Regions from separate parts of the Homo sapiens genome. Here region 2 is linked to region 1. The links are contacts of gene promoters, found by promoter capture Hi-C in human tissues and cell types (Jung and others, 2019). All regions are on one chromosome and are shown on one strand. The core of a region is centred on a gene start or on the middle of the fragment in contact, and the rest is flanking DNA. Distances in the headings are between cores, read along the strand shown. Region 1 holds the start of EFNB1 (ephrin B1). Region 2 overlaps LINC00269 (long intergenic non-protein coding RNA 269).

The links. The method cuts DNA at HindIII sites, captures the fragments that hold promoters and counts their contacts. A contact is called where the count stands out against the background at its distance.
Region 2: a contact is called between a fragment that was not itself captured here and the fragment with the promoter of EFNB1 in region 1, in 1 of the 25 tissues and cell types used here (IMR-90 fibroblasts).

Annotation. Positions count from the first base shown.
Region 1 is chrX:68,827,210-68,831,029 of GRCh38, forward strand. EFNB1 (ephrin B1) reads left to right here and starts at 1,812. Exons shown (of 5, transcript NM_004429.5): 1 at 1,812-2,695. The coding sequence starts at 2,568. The HindIII fragment of the contact is 29,584 bases long and covers 1-3,820 here.
Region 2 is chrX:69,195,229-69,199,453 of GRCh38, forward strand. The region is part of intron 1 of LINC00269 (long intergenic non-protein coding RNA 269); the gene reads left to right. Among named protein-coding and RNA genes, the nearest start is that of LINC00269, 18 kb to the left of the region's middle. The HindIII fragment of the contact is 8,137 bases long and covers 1-4,225 here.

The sequences.
Region 1 (3,820 bases), core at 562-3,061:
GATGAGTCACTTCTCTCTGAGCCTTACTTTCCCCTGTAGGTAAAATGGGGATACTGAAACTCATTTCAAAAGGTTATGAAAGGAAAAGCATCTAACTTGGTTCTTGACAATAGTAGGCACTCAGTAAGCAGCAGGCTGCTTTCTGTATTCAGGTTTTGATGTCCTAGCATGCACTCCAGGGATCCCAGTCTCCCAGCTAGACTACTGGTGTGTCCCTACACCCTATTCATCTCATCTCTCCTTCCTTACACCCCAATGCAGGGTCCAGCTGAGAGCTCAGAGACCCCAAACAGCTCCTTCTTTCCCTACCTACCCAGAGCCACTTCACCCTCAAGGGCTGCCCCTGGAAGTGGGAAGGGCCCAGATTTTCCCTATTTTCTCCTCTATTTGGGAGAAAATAAAAAGACAAAATCTGGGCTATTCCCACCTCTACAGCCACAAAGATCATCAGAGGATCCACTGAGAAACGCAGTAGCTCAGTCACCTATTAAGCGAGATGATGGACATGAAACTGTGTGAATGGTGGAGCACTTTGGGAATGTTGCTCATCTAATTATCTCCATAAAGAAAAAGTGGGGAGACCTTGTATTCTTGGCAGTCCCTAAGCCTACCCCAAACTCAGATATCCTTCTAGTTCTTTCCCTTCCTCCCCATACAGGGTGACGGTTTTTGCCAAGGCTACGCCTGTCCCAGGTCTTGTGCTATGGCAAGCTCCGGGTTTATCCCAGGCGCCCGCAGTGCTATGGAAGTCCAGCAGGGGGAGACATTAGCACGTGGGTACGTCCTCTGGGGTCCGACCAGCGAGAGTGGGTCGGACCTGGAAGGTCTGAGCTATGGGATCGAGCCAAGTTATAAGCAAAGAGGCAAGGCGGGGCGGGAAGAATGGGCCAGGGCTGGGAGACAAAGACCCAGATGGCGAGGCCGGGACAGGCTGGAGTCCGGCTTCTCCGGTCCAGGATGCCCGCTTTTGCTTTTTCAAAAGTCTCATGCCCTGTGCTTTTTCCTCTTTGCCCTCGAGGTGTCTTTCTTTATCGACGTGCCCTCTCATCCCCGCTTGCCTATCCCGGGACCTTGCCCGCGCCTTCGGACAGGACAAGACTAAATCTTGGCTCCAGAGGTCCCACAAGGCTCCCCCAGAAAGCTGAGATTCCGAAGGCCTGGTCCCCAGGGGCGATGAACACGCCTTCTCTCCCCACCACACCCCACCCTGCTCCCCGCCCCACCTCTAACCCCAATCAAGTACTGGACCCTCACCAGTTTCCCCCTCCCACTGTTCTCACTTTTATGTTCCTGACTCCGGGTCCAAGTGCAAGCAGACAGTGCATTTTGAGGGCGAGAGGAGGAAAGCCCACTAAAGCCTTACGTGGGACTGGACGAGGAGCAGACAGGCTGTCCTTGACACGGAGGTGGGCACAGAGCAGGACTTCAGGGGTCCTGTGTGTAAAAAGAAAATGGAAATACTTTCCTGGGGTACTTGGGACAGGGTCAGTGGGCTGGGGTGTTGACCAGACGCGTGGAGAGGAGAGCAGGCCGGCAGCTCTTGAGAGTGCCAACTTCCCACGGGTTGAGCTCTCTGGGAACAGGACTGAGAGGGACCCAACCCTAACCGCACGAGCCGCACACTCAGATTGGTGCCATCGGGCGCGCGGCGTCCTTAAGAGCTCCCTGAAACCCCGCCCCCTTCCTGCTCTGGGGGCGTGGTATGGGGCAAGGACCCCGCCACTGAGCTTGCTATTGGCTAAGAGAGCAGGGTTGGCCTTGCGTTCGCCTGAGCAAGGGAGTAGACAGCACAGCGGCAGCGGAGGGAGTCTATGCGAGCTGGACAGCAGTGGGAGGTTTGTGAGGCTCGCACTGGCCGCAGACCCTCGGGCTCGATCGCCCGGGAGCCAGGACTCGGCGACGCGAGGCTGCCGGGCTACCCGGCCGAGGCTTCGGGGGCGCAAACTAATGGGACTGGCTCGCTCGGCAGCATCTCCCCGCTCTTCTAAGTACACTGAGCAGGGCCCGCGCTGAAGTAGAAGCTGTCCGGGGGCGCGTAGCCCGGAGTCCCAGTGTGGCCCGGAGGAACGGAGCCCGTGCCAGGGCGGCCCAGTCGGGAGCCCGGGGACCGAGCTTGTGCTGTGGGGAAACCCCCACTTCTTCCAAGGGACAGCGATCCCGGGACGGTCGAGGCGTCGGGGCGGTCACCGAGACCTCTGCGGGAAGACCCCGTCGGGGAGAGGGCGCGCAGCCCCGAAGCGTCTCGGGAAGTCGAGCGGAATCGGGCGGGATCACCCGGGGGCGCAGAGCCCCCGTCGCGCCTCGTGCGGCAGCGGAGAGCCCAGGAGAACGAGCCCTCGGGGGCCGAAGCCCATGCCCGGGTTGGGGGCGGCTGCCCAGTGAGTCCTCCTGGCCGGCCGGGCGGAGAAGAGCGACACCGAAGCCGGCGGGAGGGGAGCACTTCAAGGCCGGCGGCTGCGGAGGATGGGCGCCTGAGCGGCTCCGAGCGCAGCGCGGCAGAGGAAGGCGAGGCGAGCTTTGGTGAGGAGGCGCCAAGGGATCCCGAAGTGCAGTCTGCCCCCGGGAAGATGGCTCGGCCTGGGCAGCGTTGGCTCGGCAAGTGGCTTGTGGCGATGGTCGTGTGGGCGCTGTGCCGGCTCGCCACACCGCTGGCCAAGAACCTGGAGCCCGTATCCTGGAGCTCCCTCAACCCCAAGTGAGTAACTTATCTCCTCTGGACGCTGGGGTGGGAGGCACTCCTTCAGGGTGAGGCCGCACGCCCCGGAGTGCATGTGGGGAGGTCTTCGGAGGAGGAGCGGCGCCTCATTTTGTCTCCGGCTTTTTCGAGTGTTTTCCTGCGGGCGGGCGGATGGAGCAGGGTGCGGCGGGGTGGGGTAGGGGCACTTGGCTGGGTTGTGACCCCCCGGGCTTCCCACCCCCTGCCTCTGCACGTCTTGGATGAAGTCGAGGTGGTCGCACAGGCGGAGCTGGGGAGTCCGGGCGCCCGAGAGCGCACCGGAGAACTGAGTGGAGGCGAGAACGCAGCTCCCTCCGGGGCCCCTGGGAACGTGGTGATTTTCGCCGAGAGCCGCTCCAGGAGCGAGCTTGACTCGGGCGAGGGACGAGGCCAGAACACGGGTTCCTCGTTTGCGTAGCTGTGGAGGGAACACAGAGCGGGACCCGGCGCTTGGGGTGGGTGGCAGCGCCAACATCCCCACTCGGGCTTCTCCCATTTTCATTTCTCTTTCTTCCCTGTTTTCCTCCCTGGCTTTTTGCTTTGCTGTCTCTTTTTGCCCCCCGCCCCTCCTTTCTCCCTGCCGGAGCGGTAGAAAGGCGGGCGCTGCTCCCAGGCTCACAAAGGCAGCGGGTGGAGAGGGGCGGAGTGGGAGAGTGGTCGTTGGGTAGTGGGGGTTCGAACCAGTGCCCGTCAGGGGTCCAATGGAGCCGGTAACAGAGCTTCAAGGGCCCGCCAGGGCGGAGAGTGGCGGCCGAGCTGTTGAGGGAGGTGGGTGGAGAAGGAGCGATTCCTGCCCAGGCAGGTCCCCTTGGCCCCCGAGTCTGTCCCCCAGATTGGGAAGCTGTGCTTAGTTTTCCCCAAGGGGTTGGGGCGGGGAGTGGGCAGCTATATAAAGGACATCCTTTCTTTTCTTTCTTCTCCTTCCTCTGCACAACTACCCCACCACCACCACACACACAACCCCTCCAAACAACACGCACACCTTTCAGGGCGGTGGCTCAGTGGTTTCTGGGCTTTTAGTGGGAAGTCGCTGGGGCTGTTGTAGTGACCTCTGGACCTTCTCTTTTGGCATCCAGGACTCAGGTTGGAACCAAGGGTCAAAAT
Region 2 (4,225 bases), core at 1,536-4,035, 370 kb after region 1:
CGGCTTCCTCTGCTGAGGATTAGCACAAACATCCCCCAGCTGTGGCCCTCCCTGCTGGCCAGCTGTGCAGGCTTTGGGTGGCGCGCCCCAGATGCAGGAGGCCCCAGGCTGGAGGCTGGACTTTCTCTCTTGTGACGTTGTGTGCTCTCCCGGCATCCAGAGGGCATGGGCCAGCCTCTGGCTCATCTCTGCTGTCAGGCCCGGTGAAGGACAGTCAACACTCCTGACTGATCAAAGGCACTCCCACCCTCTGGCCCCAGGAGTGCCGGGGCCGAAGGGGAGTGGGAGAGCTCAGATGCCGTCCTGTCATGCTTTGAAGTCCCCAATGCATTCTGGGGTAGAACTTGCTGTGGAGTGAGACCTCTGGAACACAAACTTAACAAAAATTCCTGACATGTGTTATGATGGAGGCAGGAGAGCCGAGTCCTGACACCCTTGGCCAGACCTTTCACCTCTCTGAGCCTTGCCCTTTCCAACTGGGCCAGGAGGGGACTGGATTCTGCAGAGTAAAGGCCAGGCCAGCTTGCCATCCCGTGACTCTGTGAGTTTCTCTTTCTTCTCTCAGAGGCCAGGTGGGCAGGGTGGCCCAGAAAAGGCTTATGGGCAGGAATAGAGGTAGTCTGGCACCAAGGACAGGGTGCGTGGGATAGCTGGGTGTGGGGGCTATTTATTCATTCATTTATTCATTCATCCATCCATGGAGCACCTACTGCATTCCTTAGCCCAAGGACTTGGAAATCGGGCACCCTAACATGCTGCTCCACTACTCAAGGGACCTATTAATAGATTCTGAACTGGCTCCTCCCCTCACCGTGCATTGCCTCTGTTCTAGAGCTAGGATGGGCACACTGGTTTGTGACTTTTAGCCATCAGGGGCCATATCCAGCAGGGGTTTTGGTTGAATCTGAGTCCAGCTAAGTTAAACCAAAAATAGATTTACTGGAAAGCTTTGGGATGGCTCACAGTCTTGTTGGGGAAGGGGGAGAACCAACCTCAGAGAAAGGGAAGGCACCCAATGAGGCAGGGAAGTATGTTACAGAACCAAGGGACAGTCAAGCTCATACACTACTTCCGGGACTGCTTCTCCTCACCTGACCCCTCCCAGTGGACCCTGACATTGGGAATCATTTCTGAAATGCTTCTTTTCATGAGGAGTATCTGGCTGTCTGTCAGGGGGCTTCAGGAGGGAGCTCTTTGAGCTTCTGGCCTTCCCCCCTCCCTCCCTGAACTCTCTCCAGCTACTGCAGCCTATGCCCAAGCTGATATTGTTTTCTAACTGACCAAGCTCTTTGGCTTCTCCAAATGCCCCAGCCAGCCCTGGGCTTTCTGAACTCACTATATCTCCAAATAACTTCTTTTTCCCCTCCATGTATGTCCTTTAGGGTCACAACGAAAGGGGCCAACACAGACATCTCCCTCACTGGTCTTGATCATTTTGTGCCTGGCCCCAGCCTAATTTAAAGCCCTGTAAACTAGTACATGTCGTGACCTCAGGGTAAAGGTGAAACCCCCTGCCATCTGCTGAGGGGGTAGGGGGGGCACCTGCTGGAGGAATGGTACAGTCCAGACCCATGATTGCCCCAGGAGAATCAGCCAGAGGCAAGCCAGTCTGCTCAAAGCCCTGGAGGCTGAGAGGTCTGGTGGCAGCCTGTCAAGGAGCCAACCGTGCAGGGGGCTGGCCAGGCTGGATGTGGGAACCACACTGGAGACTTATTGGCGCAGATCCCTCTCATAGCTATGCTACAAGCCCTCTTATCAGATGCAAAGGGGATCTTCTGTTCTCCACAAGGGCAATGTCCTACCAAGGTGGGGGTAAAACTGGCCTTGGGAAATTAGAGACATTACGTGACTTGCTGAAGGTTATGTAGATGATAATGAGCAGAGCTGCAACTCCCCAGTCCTCAGTCAGCAACAAAGCACTCTAGCAAAGACCACATTGTACCAGCTCCCCCAGATAGCTTTCAGGAGCCCCCAGCTCCCCCGCCAGCCACCTGCCTCAGGCCTTAACTACTTCATTAGAACCACAGTGTGTCCAAGCTTGAAGAGACCTCAGAGGTCAGTAGCCTAGCCCTCCCCTCACACACACATATGCATACACACACAAGTACACCATTACAGCTGGAAAATTGAGGCTTGGGGAGGGAAAGGAGAATGCCAAAGATTGGCAAGCAGGTTGATGGGTCTAGAAGCCAGATCCCTGGGCTCCTCTGGCAGCCATGGTTCTGTGTACAAGCCTGGCTACATTCCTGTCCTTATCTTACAACCTAGCCGCAACAGCTATTCCTACCTGTCCTCTTTTCTCCCTGTCCTCGAGCTTTGCATTCAGGGCCGAACCTACTGCTGGAGAAGTCCCCGCCTTCCACCCGAGCACCCATGGATCAGCTGGTGCCCCTACAGCTATCCTGGTGGAAGAGCCACCCCACTTCTGGCCCACTTCCTTCTCTTTTAATAGCATGTGTGAAGAAGAAGCTGTTGGTGCCAAAAAGATTCCAAGAAAATAGGTAGGCCCAGGCCAGGCAGCCCAAGCTGCTAATGCAAAGAGGCAGCTCCTACCCTTCCATCAAAGCCCTGGAATCCAGAACTGCAAAGGCCCCAGGGAGGAAGTAAAAGGAAGCTGAGTTGCTAAGTGGCCTGCCCCCATCCTCCACCCCACTGCAGATGCCTGGCTGGCTGGACAGGAGGGCACTAGCAGAGGAATGATGATAACCATCCCTCCCATCTGGACGGCCCTTTCACACACCACTAACAGGCTTCCCTCCCCTTCTCTTGTCCCAGCCACACAAAAGGCTTGGTAATTATCCCCAGTAGCCAGATGGAGGCTCAGAGAAGACAAGAAACCTGCCTGAGGTTGCACAGCTAGTTGGTGGTGGTATTAAGCACAATTTGCAATCCAGGAATCCATGTCCCGTGCATATTCCCCTTAGCTTTCACCTGGCTTACAAACCCAGGCCTTGGACTCCTGGATCTCTGCCCCAGCCAGAGGGCAAAGAGGATAGGGCACCCAGGCTGGGAGGGACTGTAATAGAAGAGGGTTTAAGATGGGGGAGGGCACTGAGGACCAATATGACAGAAAAAAGCAAGTCTACCCCTGTCCCAAGTTTCCCTCATTGCCCTCTCGACTGAAGAACTTTCTTTAGCTTTTCTTTTAGAGCAGATCTGCTGGAAACACATTCTCTTAGTTTTTCTTCATCTGAGAATGTCTTTACTTCTGCTTCCTTCTTGAATGATATTTTCACTGGATATTGAACTCTCTGGGTTGACAGTTCTTTTCTTCTGGAATTTAAAAAATACTGTGACACTTCCTCTGGTCTCCATGGTTTCAGGCAAGAAATCCACCATCATTCATACTCAGGTCTCTTCTGACTTCAAGGGCCTGCTCCAAAGGAGGCCATGCAGGGTAGCAGAAAGAACTCTGGAGGACTGGGAGTTGAGCCACAGCTCCACCACTTCCTATCCATGTGACATCGCATGAGTCCCTCCACCATTCCCAACCTCAGCTTTTACATTGCTGCTATAAAAGGGTGGGACTGGATTGTCACACTAAAGACCCTGACATTCCCTGGGTCTCTGAGAACTATCCAATTCCCAGGGGTGCCAAGCTCCTGATGATGAGGAAAGAGACCCCACAGAGACACCCTCTGTCCCTGCTTTCCTTGGGGGATGTGGCTTGAGTCCTGTACTTTTTGTTCCCTCGACTGACGCCTGCCCTGGCCTCACCTAGCCCATTGAGGCAGGGAGGGTTCTTAGGATGTTTCAGGCTTCCCAACCCAGCTCTCAAATCCTGAGCAACCAGGGGAACCCTCTCTTTCCCTCTCGTCAGGGCCATTGCAGAGCACTCCTTCAGTGGGCAGGGGGGCAATCTCCAGGACCATCCAATGTCTCTCCCCATCCTACCCACCCTACAGTACAGTCTGACTGCTGGGCTCTCCCAGACACTGCCATGCTGTTTTCATGCTTCCATTTTGTTCCCTTTGCCTTGGAAATCCTTTCTCCCTTGTCTACTTGGCAAGGTCTTGCAGAAGCAATACTAGCTCTTTACTTCTCTCTGCCTCAGTTTTCTCATCTGTAAATTAGAGATGACAATAATAGTAATAATACCTACCCCATAAAGTCATTGGGAAGATCAAACAAGCTACTCCCTATGAAATCCTTTGAACAGTGGTTGGCCCATAGTAAATATTCAGCAGACACTAGCTTATTATTACAGTTATCATTAACACTATTA